Regions from separate parts of the Homo sapiens genome. Here regions 1 and 2 are each linked to region 3. Evidence: promoter capture Hi-C in 16 types of primary human blood cells and fetal thymus (Javierre and others, 2016). All regions are on one chromosome and are shown on one strand. Each heading gives the region's core, a stretch centred on a gene start or on the middle of the fragment in contact. The rest is flanking DNA. Distances are from core to core; before and after follow the strand shown. Region 1 overlaps LOC124903709 (a long non-coding RNA gene). Region 2 has its middle 7.7 kb from the start of TAT-AS1. Region 3 holds the start of ATXN1L (ataxin 1 like).

Region 1 (4,180 bases), core at 608-3,107, 380 kb before region 3:
TTCAAAAACAAACACAGAGAAAAGAAAATTAAAAATAAATGTACAGGACTGAGAAGTCCTGATTTCTTCACCTACTAGCTATGAGACCTTGGACAACCACTTAGCTTTTCTGAAATTCCAATGATTCATCTGAAAAATGAGATAATAGTTCACAGTTGTTGTAAATACTACACATAATGTTTTGCTTAAAGTACATACAACAGGGACCAGGATTCAGTAGTTGCTCAATTAATGTTAACTTTTCCCCTCCTCTAAATTATTTGTGGACCTGATTACACTTTTTTATTTGTCAGTAATGAAGTTAGTAATGCATAAGTTTGTAAATATGACATATTATAAGTAGGAGAAAGACCTACAGTGCCAAACTCCTTCAAAGTTTTTTGTGCATAACCTCACAGAAACATGCTAACAACAATCAAGTTCGGAAGATTTTTACCACAGAGAAAGCAGATCCAATCCATTGTATGTTTCTGAAAATAGGTTAACAGGTGGGGGTTAGCACGTGAGGAGAGGGCATGAAAAAGAATCAAGCAGCCTGTCTCCAAATGAATACAACATACCTTCTTTCTCACATGTATTGCCTGATAATTTGCTTATATGTGCCTAGGAAGAGCCCTGAGCATTCTTCCTTACATAGTATGACCAGGTATTACACATTTTCCCCTAACTTGAAGGACGTTGGCCTCTGGCATAACACAATGATACTAGGTACCAATCCCATAGACCTCCCAAGGGAATCGGTCCAATTATCAGCTCTGATGCTGAAGTTTCTAGAAGGAAGAGAAAGAATCTCAACCCCCACCGTGTCATAAAGAACCTTGTAAAAGACTGCTGATTTTAGAGGATTACAATTGCCAGGTACACCGGAGTGGAAAGCCCCAAGAAATTAACAGTGACCACTACAACCTGTGTTTAGTGTCATCCAGGTACAAAGGACAGCAGTAGAAAACAGAGAAGCCGTGGTGCTGTCCAAGGTGCTAGCTCCGACTCAGTGGGGGGGGGGGGGGGGGTGTGTCTGTGGCGCTCTCCAAGGTTCTGGGGCTGGCCTCAGAACCATTGTCCTCCAACCTGGTGTGTTGGTCCCCTCTGACTATATATGTGTGTGTGTTTTTGAGGAGTCTCACTCTTGTCACCCAGTCTGGAGTGCAGTGGCACGATCTCAGTTCACTGCAACCTCCACCTCCCGGGTTCAAGCGATTCTCTGGCCTCAGCCTCCCGAGTAACTGGGATTACAGGCGCCCACCACTACACCTGGCTGATTTTTGTATATTTAGTAGAGATGGGGTTTCACCATATCGACCAGGCTGGTCTCGAACTCCTGACCTCAGGTGATCCACCTGCCTTGGCCTCCCAAAGTGCTGAGATTACAGGCATTAGCCACCATGCCCAGCCTCCCTCTGGCTATATTTTAAGCCTGATATCCAAATACTTAATCTCACCCTATTCCTTTCTTTGAATTCATTTGGTCAGAACCTGACACGTATCACCCAGTGCCCCAGTTCCTACTTGTCTTCTCTATCACTCTGCCTCAAAATCCAGAGATTCCAAGGATGATAATTTATTGTGGGCCCAAATGGCTAAGAGAGGCTCTTCTGGGAAGCTTTCTTACATCATATAAATTTTTGTTAACATGAATTATTTGTATTTGAAAGATTTAAAAGACAAGGAAGCTATGTATTGTTCTTGTTGTTAACAATAAATTACCTCAACACTATTTGAACATAATAAAAATGTAATAAAACCTGAAACTTCGTGTGTTCCAATTGCTTTATTCAACTAACTTACACTCCTTTCCTGGTGAGTTACCTTGCATTCAGGTGTTCTGAGCCATGAAAACATTTTTCTTTCTTTTCTCTTTTTTGTAGAGATGGGGTCTCGCTATGCTGCGTTGGCTGGTTTGGAACTCCTGGCCTCAAGGGATCCAACCATTTTAGTCTCCCAAAGTGCTAGGATTATAGACATGTGCCATGATGCCTGGCCCAAAGACATCTTTAATCTGAATTGCACTTCATTAACTATTAGACACATTTATGTTTATTATGTAATGCTTTCTTCACATCCATACTGAAGAAGATCCAGTAGGTATTATATCTATTTTATAGATGAAGAAAAACAAAGCTTACATGTTACAGTCTTTGTAGAACATAGACTGTAGTGGGGGACACAACTTTTAAGTAAATCCACACCTGGATAAATATATTATTGTAAACTTTCATTCGTGTGAGGGAGGTAAAGAGCAAGGTGTTTAGGAGATAATATCAAGGGAATACCATTTTAACTTGGAGGTAAGGAAAGGCCTGAGGAAGTGATCTTGATCTTGGGCTGAGACCTGAAAGATAAGAATGAACTATCTGGGCACATAATCAAGGAGACAGCATTCCAGGCAGGAGGAATAGCATGTGTAGGCCCTTCAGTGGAAAAAAAAAAAAAAAAAAAGCTTGACACATCATGGGGAGAGAGGAGGGAGGAAGTGCTGCGCCATGAAGTCATTAGAGCTTTGCAGGCCATGTTAAAGAGTTTGGATTTTATTCCAAGGTCAATGGAAACCCATTGAAATGTTTTAAGAAAAGCATGTTATGTTCCATATTTTTAAAAGCACACCTGGCTGCTGACTGGCAGATAGATTAGAAGGATTCAAGAGCAGAAGTGGGGAGACTACTTAAGGAGCAATTGTGGTAGTCTAGGAAAGAAATGTTGGTGGCTCAGAACAAGGCAGTAGCACCAGGAACTGGAGAGAAGCTCCATGTTGCTCATCAGTAACATGTTCTGTCATCATGTGCTATCATCTAGCATGTTGCTTAGCACACAGAAGTCACTAAATAAATATTTATTGCCAGGCACAGTGACCCATGTCTGTGATTCCGGCACTTTGGGAGACCAAGGTGGGAGGATTGCTTGGCCTCAGGAGTTCTAGACCAGCCTGGGCAACATAGTGAAACCTTGTCTCTACAAAATATACATAAATTGATGGGCACAATGGCTCACACCTGTAATCCCAGTACTTTGAGAGGCTGAGGTGGGCAGATCACAAGGTCAGGAGTTCGAGACCAGCCTGGCCAATATGGTGAAACCCCATCTCTACTAAAAATACAAAAATTAGCCAGGCGTGGTGGCGCTTGCCTGTAGTCCCAGCTACTCAGGAGGCTAAGGCAGAAGAGTCGCTTGAACCCACGAGGCAGAGGTTGCAGTGAGCCGAGATCATGCCACTGCACTCCAGCCTGGGCAACAGAGCGAGACTCCATCTCAAAAAAAAAATTTATATATATATATAAACTGGGTGTGGTGGCGCATGCCTGTAGTCCCAACTACTAGGGAGGCTGAGGTACGAGGATCACTTGAGCCTGGGAGGGCAAGTCTGCAGTGAGCCATGATCGTGCCACTGCACTCCAGCCTGGGTGGTAGAGCAAGACCCTGTGTCAAAAAAAAAGTTGAGTAATTAATAAAATCATTTATTGTATGTGGCATACTTCTAAGGATTCTTTTATTTGCATGGCTCCAAGTGCTTGTTTTAGTTGATAATCTGAGGGACATGCATTGCCAGGTCCTCCTTACAGGCTGATAACCGTGATATTTACCATGTTTTACCTCCTGGCCACACATAGCTACAGTTATATAAACAACTTAGTCTATCTAAAATTAGGCACTTCAGTGACACACGAAAACGTTGTGCCCCACAGCATAGTTGCTCTGAGAGGAAGCTTCTTTGAAGTAGAAATAAGAAATGTGCAGCCACCACTGAAAACAGAATGGGATTTCATCACAAAAATGCTCATCTGGGCCATCCTCTAACATCTAAAGGATTTCAGTTGAGTAGACTACTAATATTCACTACTAGAATATAAGACACATTCTCATTGCCTGAAAGTTCTGTCTCCCTCTCATTAGTTTGGGTTTCCCTGAAGGCAGGGCTTGAGACAAGGACTCGAACGCACATTTATTCAGGAGATGATCCCAGGAAGCAGTACTAAAAGAACCCAAGGAGTGAGACAGGATAGGAGGAAATGACAATATGAAGTGTTCTAAAGGTTGATGCTATGAGCACTGGGACCTCCAGGAAAGAGTAAAGAATTCCTCCTCTAATTGTCCACTTGAAAGATGGGAAACTGGAACCTTTATCCTCAAACTCTTGTCCAGCATCATTAAGGGTTTTTCTGGGATTGCTAACTTGCCCTGTGTATTC
Region 2 (4,038 bases), core at 666-3,165, 290 kb before region 3:
ACCTTTATTTTTACTTTAAGTATAGAAATTGAGAAGGTTCAGGATCAGATTAATCCCAGGTAGAGGCTGTGCACAGTAGATGCTGTGGAATAAGGAAGCTAAGAAGTTGAGGTCGCTGGCAGGAATGTGGGCAGAGTACAGCACCATGAGGCAAAAAAGAAGTGTAACAATGCAAGGGAGTTAATGGACTTGGGAAATGTTTGAAGAGATTAAAGGGCTGTAAAATGTCCAGGTGTCAGATTGTGAGCCAGTTGGAGGGTGAGCAGCTTGCAGTTAGTAAATTACATGTTAGGGATTAATAATCCTAAAATAGTCTAGTTCAAGTGATGACAAGGAACACAGGTGTGGCTTTGGGAGTGGGGCCATTGTGGGGTAGATTGTACAGCTCCTCATGTTTGGAATAAGCAAGAGGCCTTGAGGTTAGAGTGTGGGTGAGGCTATCCACAGAGATGTTGAAATTTCCCAAGTGTTGAAATTTCCCATGTATCAGGCCCTAAATAAATAAGGGAGTGTGCACAGAAAGGATATAAAGTAATTCAGCACATGTTTTAAAGGAAGCTGGTTATTGTGTGAGTCTGGGGGAGTATAGATATGAAAAAAGACAATAAGTTAGAGTCTGGGCTATGTGGGAAAAAAAGCTATTTCAAACAGTGAGTTGGCCGGGTGCAGTGACTCACGCCTGTAATCCCAGCACTTTGGGAGGCCAAGGCAGGCAGATCATGAGGTCAGGAGATCGAGACCATCCTGGCCAACATGGTGAAACCCTGTCTCTACTAAAAATACAAAAATTAGCTGGGTGTGGTGGCACGCACCTGTAATCCCAGCTGCTCGGGAGGCTGACGCAGGAGAATTGCTTGAACCTGGGAAGCAGAGGTTGCCCTGAGCTGAGATGGTGCCATTGCACTCCAGCCTGGCAAGAGAGCGAGACTCTGTCTCAAAAAAAAAAGAACAAACAGTGACTTTAGGGGAAGAGCGAAGTTACAGTTAAGGCAAAGAAGTAACCAGTTTGATGATGGCAGATAATTGTACCTGCTATGGAACAAAGATTTTGGGCAGGGGGAGAACGGAAGGAGGAAACATCAGGATGGAGAGATGTAAGAGAAGTATGGAGACTTCCAAAGCAACATCACAAGAAAGATCATATGAAAATGTTTGGGCTTCAAAACATCTAGATATGATGGATAAAATCTAACAAACGTATTTTCAAATTCAGAGCCAAGCTTGCAAGAGAGTAACAGAATCCCCAAAGAAGCAAAAACAAAGAGGGGCCTGAAAATTTGGAAAATAAGAGTATGCTTATGCTGGTAACATCTCAGTAATCATGGGTTTAGAGTTTAACACTAGTGGAGGAGGACTTAGACCCATGTAAGGCAGGGATTTAAAATTTAGACCTCTCCACAAAGCCAAGCCCTTCCAAATGTTAAGGCTGAGTAACAAGATGGATTATAAAGAAATCTTTCTTATTCTGGCCCCTGGGAAGAAAAAAGAAAACTCTCCCATGACAGTTTGTAAGCATAGGCATTCCTTTACATGGGTTTAGTGTTCAAATGTAACCTACCTGTATGGTCTGGAAACCCCAAAGTTGAGAAATTCACTGAAAAGTGATCCTGATCCATTCCATCAGCAGTTTGTTGTCGTTGTTTTGTTTTGTTTATTTGTTTGTTTTTTGAGATAAAGTCTTGCTCTCGTCCCCCAGGCTGGAGTGTGATGGTGCGATCTCGGCTCACTGCAACCTCCGCCTCCAAGGTTCAAGCGATTCTCCTGCCTCAGCCTCCCCAGTATCTGGGATTACAGGTGCCTGCCACCACACCTGGCTAATTTTTGTATTTTTAGTAGAGATGGGATTTCACCATGTTGGCCAGGCTGGTCTTGAACTCCTGACCTCAGGTGATCTGCCCCCCTGGCCTCCCAAAGTGCTGGGATTACAGGCGTGAGCCACCACGCCCAGCCCCATCAGCAGTTTTAATACTACAAGGAGAGAAAGTCATTGGGGAACCTCTAGCAACCTGCCATATCAGTCAGTATTTTTGTGGCAAAGAAGTATGATCAATAAAATACTTTCAAAGATAAGGATAACGTTAACATAAAACTGGGGTAAAACATAAAACAGAAATACAAGATGAAGAAAGAAAATCATCCTGGCACTTTGGGAGGCCAAAGCAGAAGGATCATTTGAGCCCAGGAGACCAGCCTGGGCAGCATAGTGAGACCCCATCTCTGCAAAAAATACACAAATTAGGCAGGCATGTTGGCATGTAACTATGGTCCGAGCCACTCAGAAGGCTGAGGTGGAAAGATTACTTGAGTCTAGGAGGTCAAGGCTGCAGCGAGCTATGATTGTAATCATGTCATTGCACTCCAGTCTGGGCAACAGAGCAAGATCCTGTTTCAACAACAAAAAAAAGAAGGTAAATTTCTAGTAAATATCCAATATCATCTCTGTTGAAAAATGCATGCTCTAGTTAAATGAACAAGTTAAATGACACCACAAGGAAGCCAACAAACATATCCAGAATGTAGAACATTTTGTAAGACAGCCATTCCTGCAACAAGTCAATGGTATGAAAAGAAAAAAAAAAAAACAGGAGCCTTCTCTAGAGTAAGAGATATTTAAGCTTAAGACATAAAACTAAAAAGTAATGTTTAAACTTTGTTTGAATCCTGATCCAAATAAACCAACTATAAGAAGACATTTTGGAGGCAACCAAAAATATCTTACTATTTGATGTGATGTGGCACTGTGGTTAAGAAATTATGTGTTTAGAGATGTGTACTGAGGCGTATGGGGAGAACTAACGATGTCCAGGATTTGCTTTACAATCTTTTGGCAAAGAAAACAAGAAAAAGAAGGAAGGAACAAAAATGGCAATATCTTGAGAGTCATTAAATCTGAGTGATGGGTATATTGGTGCTAATTATACTACTGCTTCTACTTTTATATATGTTTGAATTTTCAGTCAAGAATTCTAAATTATTTTAGGGAACACATGAACGAAAAAGTGTAAAAACCACTAGTTTATCACACATGCTAATTCTGCTATTTACAGAAACATCTCAGATGTTTTTCTAGAAATTTCTTATTGCTCCCAGTGTGGAAGCCCAACTGACACTTTGCCCTGCTTCCATTATGAAATACCAGAGTCAGGAAAAATAAGCACTTTGTACCCTTAAATGAAACAACAATGATGAGGTCACCCCATCTAGTTCTAGTCCCCAAACTAATTCCTGCAAGTGTGCACTCCTTATCTTTAAAAAACTGAAGTTATCTCTGCCTTTTAGAATGATTATGTCTGAAGTAACATCACAATGTTTGTGACTAGGATGAACATGAGAAAAAGTTACTGTTTTCCACCATGAACAGATAGCTACAAACTGGCAATCTTACATGCTTTTTCTTTTCTTTAAAAACCTAAAAATCCTTTAAATGCCACACAGATATTTGAGTTGATCTCCCTAAAGTCTGACTCCTTTATATCTTTTTTTCCACTCACACAAAAAAAACAGTATTACTGAGACATGATCTACATACCACACAACTCAACCCACTTAAATTGTACAATTCAATGGTTTTTACTTTCTTTAAAGTTGTGTAACCATCACCATTATCAATTTTAGAATATATTCATCACTCCAAAAAGAAACTCTGTACCCATTAGCCATCTCTCTCCATCTCCCACATATGGCCTCACCTCTAGCTCTAGAAGTAACTAATCTATTTTCTGTCTCTATGAGTAATATGATTTGGCTCTGTGTCCTCACCCAAATCTCATGTCGAATTGTAATTCCCAGTGTTGAAGGACAGGCCTGGTGAGAGGTGATTAAATCATGGAGGTGGACTTCCCCCTTGCTGTTCTTGTGATAGAGTTCTCCCAAGATCTGCTTGTTTAAAAGTGTGTAGAACCTCCTCCTACTCCCACTGGCCATGTGAAGATGTCCCTGCTTCCCCTTCACCTTCTGCCATGTGGTAAGTTTCCTGAGGCCTCCCCAGAAGCAGAAAACTATACAGCCTGCAAAACTGTGAGCACAATTAAACCTCTT
Region 3 (4,254 bases), core at 674-3,173:
AATAATATAAGTTGTTTCTTTGCCTTTTGACCACCACCCAATTCCACTTTCCTTCCCAAAAATAACCAATGTTAATTAGTTATGTGTTCTACTCCTTTTCTGTACAGATACACAGAAATACATACAACCGACGCTGGGTGTGGTTGGCTCATGACTGAAATGTCAGCACTTTGGGAGGCCGAGGAGGGAAGATCACTTGAGCACAGGAGTCTAAGACCAGCCTGGGCAACATAGCAAGACCTTGTCTCTGCAAGAAATTTTAAAAAATTAGCTGGGCATGGTAGTGCATGCCTATCATCGCACCTACCCCAGAGGCTGAGGTGGGAGGACTGCTTGAGCACAGGAATTTGAGGCTGCAGTGAGCTAAGATGGCACCACTGCACTCTAACCTGGGCGACAGGGCTAAAAAAAAAAAAAAATTATATGTACACACACACACACACATACACGCAACTGCAATGACATATCTTTTTTTTTCTTTTTTTTTTTTTAAGACGGAGTCTCACTCTATTGCCCAGGCTGGAGTGCAGTGGCACGATCTCGGCTCACTGCAAGCTCTGCCTCCCGGGTTCATGCCATTCTCCTGCTTCAGCCTCCCGAGTAGCTGGGAGTACAGGTGCCCGCCACCATGCCCGGCTAATTTTCTGTATTTTTAGTAGAGACGGGGTTTCGCCGTGTTAGCCAGGATGGTCTGCGATCTCCTGACCTCGTGATCCGCCGGCCTTGGCCTCCCAAAGTGCTGGGATTGCAGGCGTGAGCCACCGCGCCTGGCCCAATTGTTATTTATTGAACAGAGTTTGAAGAAACTGAAAGTCTCCATTTCGGTGGCCAAAACCGCAATTACTTTTGCACCAACCTAATACTTTAAAACAAACAACAACAAAAACACAGTTGTTATTCAAACATAAATTCAACTGGCGCTCACTTTTGTCTTCACTTAAGTTAATCAGATGTTCATGTTACTATGAAGTTGACCAGTTAATTTGTAATGAATAATTAGTTAATTTGTAATGAATAATATTTCACTGAGTAGTCAAGCCCTCTTTCCACTAAACCAAGCTGCTTCTCACTGTACTAAACCCCGGGCTCTCTCTAAACTTTCAGGTGTTCCACTCCTTGTCACCTTCCCCTAGATCCTGAGTGGGGTTCACTCTTAGCTCCCTCGGGGGCCACTTCTCAACACTTACAGAGCTCCTATTGACCTGGCACGGTGGCTCACGCCTGTAATCCCAGCACTTTGGCAGGCCGAGGTGTGGGGATCACCTGAGGTCGGGAGTTCGAGACCAGCCTGACCAGCAAGGAGAAACCCTGTCTCTACTAAAAATACAAAAAATTAGCCAGGTGTGGTGGCGCATGCCTGTAATCCCAGCTACTCGGGAGGCTGAGATAGGAGAATTGCTTGAACCTGGCAGGCGGAGGTTGGGTGAGCCGAGATCGTGCCATTGCACTCTAGCCTGGGCAACAAGAGCGAAACTGTCTCCAAAAAAAAGAAAGAAAAGAAAAAAAGAAGACTTCCTATCTCCACCTGGGTCCCCAAGAGGTAAGAGGTATCTCCTTTTCTCCTGAGCCTAGGTCACCTCGGGGTCCCCCGAAGTTCCCCAGAAGGGGCTGCACAAGTCAGGACAAGAAGTCCAGGAAATGGGGGGTCGCCGATGACCACGCCCCGGGGCTCTGTTTGGGAACCCCCAAAATTTACTGAGGTGGAAAGATTGCGGGGTCATTGTGGGGTCAGGCTGAGGGGGCCGGGCCCAGCCCTATTCACGTGACCCGGTCCCAGGGAGAGGAGTTTGTTCACCCACCAGAGGGAACGCCCGACGCGAAGGCAGTGTGGCACCCTCCCTTCCCGGGGAGTCCTGGGCGTTGCTCTCCCACCCCGGCCGTGACGCAATCTCTCCGCGCCGGGGGCGGGACGAGCTTGACGCCATCTCCGGGCGCCCGGCTGTGGGGGGCGCTGGGTGTGGGGCGGCTCCGGGGCCGGGGATGGCGGCGGCCGCGGTTGCGGCGGCTCCGGGACGAGTGAGTGGATCCTGGGAAGCGCTGTGAAATGGGCTGGTGAGTGTCCCTGGAAGTGGTGGCCGCCGGGGCCAGGCAGGCCTGGGGTCGGTGCTCCGGAGGAAGTGGCCCTCAGGAGCCCGTTGCTCCGGCGGGCCGGGGCCCATGAACCGTGGACAGACGGAGGGGAGAGGCCGCACCTAGACCCCCTCGCGCTTCTCTCTGGCCTGTCCTGGAAGGTGGCCTCAGGCCCCGGCGCCCCGGAGGCTGTGTGCCTGCGAGCCAAGGTGTCCGAGTCTGTGGGGCGGGAAGGGCCCCCAAACAAGGAAGCGTCGCCTGCAGGGCCTCGCCCCTGCCCCCTTGGTGAAGGGTGGACCCCCTACTCTCTAAACGCAGAATTCCCAATTTCGAGCCCTACCCTTGTTGGATCAAGGATTGCGGGACCACTGGGAGCCATAACCGTAGTCTCTGACAAGCTTCTCCCTTTCTGTCGGGCGCACCTCTCGCCCGCAGAGAATTTGGGTCTCCAGCTGGGTTCAGCCCCTTGATTCCGACCCAAGCGTGATGAGGAGCTTGGTTCCGGGCTCTGCTAGCAGCGTTGGCAACTCTCCTGAACAGCCTGTTAGCTCGGTTGGGGTCACAAGCTGCGTTTTCCCTTTGAGATGCTCAGTGAGGTTCTCGAGAGGCGGAGGTTTCGGATTCTTAAGTGTGTTTTGCGTTGTGGGAACCTGGCGCACAGGCTTGGCTCTTTGTTTTCCTTTCTGCAGACCTTTTGCCTCTTTCGGTCCCTTTACTAGCCTGTGTTTGCTAACTTCTCGGTGACCTGGAGGCAGGTTTTCTTTAAAGTTTTCGTTACAGAAAGCAAGGATCATTTTGGGATTGAAGTGTGACCCCAGTTTCTGTTGGGAATGAAGAAGAAAGCAAGCTGCTTTTCAGTTATTAAAGCTGCTGGTGGAGAAAAGAGTCATTATTTATGCCACTGTGTAATAATATGTGTTTGTGGAATTAGGAATTTGTTTTCCCACTGTGTTTTCCTATCCTTCCACCTTTTGTGTACACCTGCACCTTGCCAATCTTAAGAGAGAAATGTTGCATTCGGTTTGGGTTGAGGCTTAGAGTGTTCTATAGGACTTGGACAGGATAGTCAGTTTCTCAGAGCACTCACTCATCTGTACTGCCTTCTCTGTTTTCAGAGGTTAAGGCTCCATTCTTTCTCGCTTTGCGTTTCTGGCAAGTGTAGATTCACATAGTGATGGTTTAGTGGTAGTTTTGTTTCACCAGTGTTAGCCAGCTGAGGACCAAGGCAATATTTTCAGTTTCTTTCATACCTGATTCAGCACTTGGTATACTGTCACTCAGAAAATTTTACATACACACACACATATGCTCATTTTTTTTTAACCCTGAAAATCTCTTAATAAGTCTTCTCCTTGAGTGACTCCCCCCTGACCTCTTTTTCTGCCCCAGAAACATAAATAATTGTTCTTTTTCATCTACTGCTGCTTTTTTTCATTTAAATAACTCCACATTTATGTTTTCATAGGCCCAGAATAAAGGGGAAATCCATAGAGTTGATTTTTCCTGCTTCCCATTGTTCATATGGGAACAGTGTTAAAGCTTCCATTTTTATTTGTGCGTTTATCTGAAATTTGGATTGGAGCAAATTTAACCTTTGGGGAACAGGCACAGGTAGATGTTAGGGAAATGATGTTACGGAAAACCAATGAAATTTGATACATGGAAATTTTTTTTCAGGGATGTCTTCTTACAAGTTGGAGCATTAGAGGTGTTTTTCTCTCTGTTCAACTGCCTGGGCACTCTGGGTAAATGTACTGTTTACCTGTGGAGAAGAAGATGAGGCAAGGACGTGTATACTCTAATGCTTTGGAATTACCTTTCATGGTGACCCTGGGGAGAATTAGAGGTCAGGCAGCCGCTTACTCCATTCCTGTTTCTATCTTCTAGGCTCCCGAGCCAGCCGGGAGGACACTTACTACAGCTGCTCAGAAGCACCACTGGAAACTCAGGTAATACCGGCACTTTGAATTCCTTGTTTCAGGAAAATATCTGGGATGTCACAGTGGAAAAACAGAACAGAATGTAATATAGAAAGCTCTTTTCAGATCCAAAGAACTGGAACCTGGTTGGAAGAAATAGGCAGCAAAGTTCATGTGCACTGAAGTGTTCAGACCAAAAAGTTGCTTTATAACAATGGACAAAAGCATTTGTGAAAGGTGACAATAAGAGAAAAGGGAAAGAGAA

What was found. Contacts are between HindIII fragments. The CHiCAGO score rates a contact against its expected background, and 5 or more counts as called.
Region 1: a contact is called between a fragment that was not itself captured here and the fragment with the promoter of ATXN1L in region 3, in 2 of 17 cell types (naive CD4 T cells and total CD4 T cells). The highest score is 5.1, in naive CD4 T cells.
Region 2: a fragment that was not itself captured here is called in contact with the fragment with the promoter of ATXN1L in region 3 in 1 of 17 cell types (total CD4 T cells); the score reaches 5.4 in total CD4 T cells.

Annotation. Positions count from the first base shown.
Region 1 is chr16:71,466,968-71,471,147 of GRCh38, forward strand. It overlaps LOC124903709 (a long non-coding RNA gene), which reads left to right. Exons shown (of 2, transcript XR_007065105.1): 2 at 1-1,748. Among named protein-coding and RNA genes, the nearest start is that of ZNF23, 6.8 kb to the left of the region's middle. The HindIII fragment of the contact is 518 bases long and covers 1,599-2,116 here.
Region 2 is chr16:71,555,251-71,559,288 of GRCh38, forward strand. No RefSeq gene overlaps it. Among named protein-coding and RNA genes, the nearest start is that of TAT-AS1, 7.7 kb to the right of the region's middle. The HindIII fragment of the contact is 1,395 bases long and covers 1,219-2,613 here.
Region 3 is chr16:71,844,053-71,848,306 of GRCh38, forward strand. ATXN1L (ataxin 1 like) reads left to right here and starts at 1,924. Exons shown (of 3, transcript NM_001137675.4): 1 at 1,924-2,052; 2 at 3,958-4,019. RefSeq lists enhancers at 996-1,768, 1,502-1,551, 1,769-2,540, 2,342-2,411 and a silencer at 1,812-2,121. The HindIII fragment of the contact is 5,556 bases long and covers 1-2,466 here.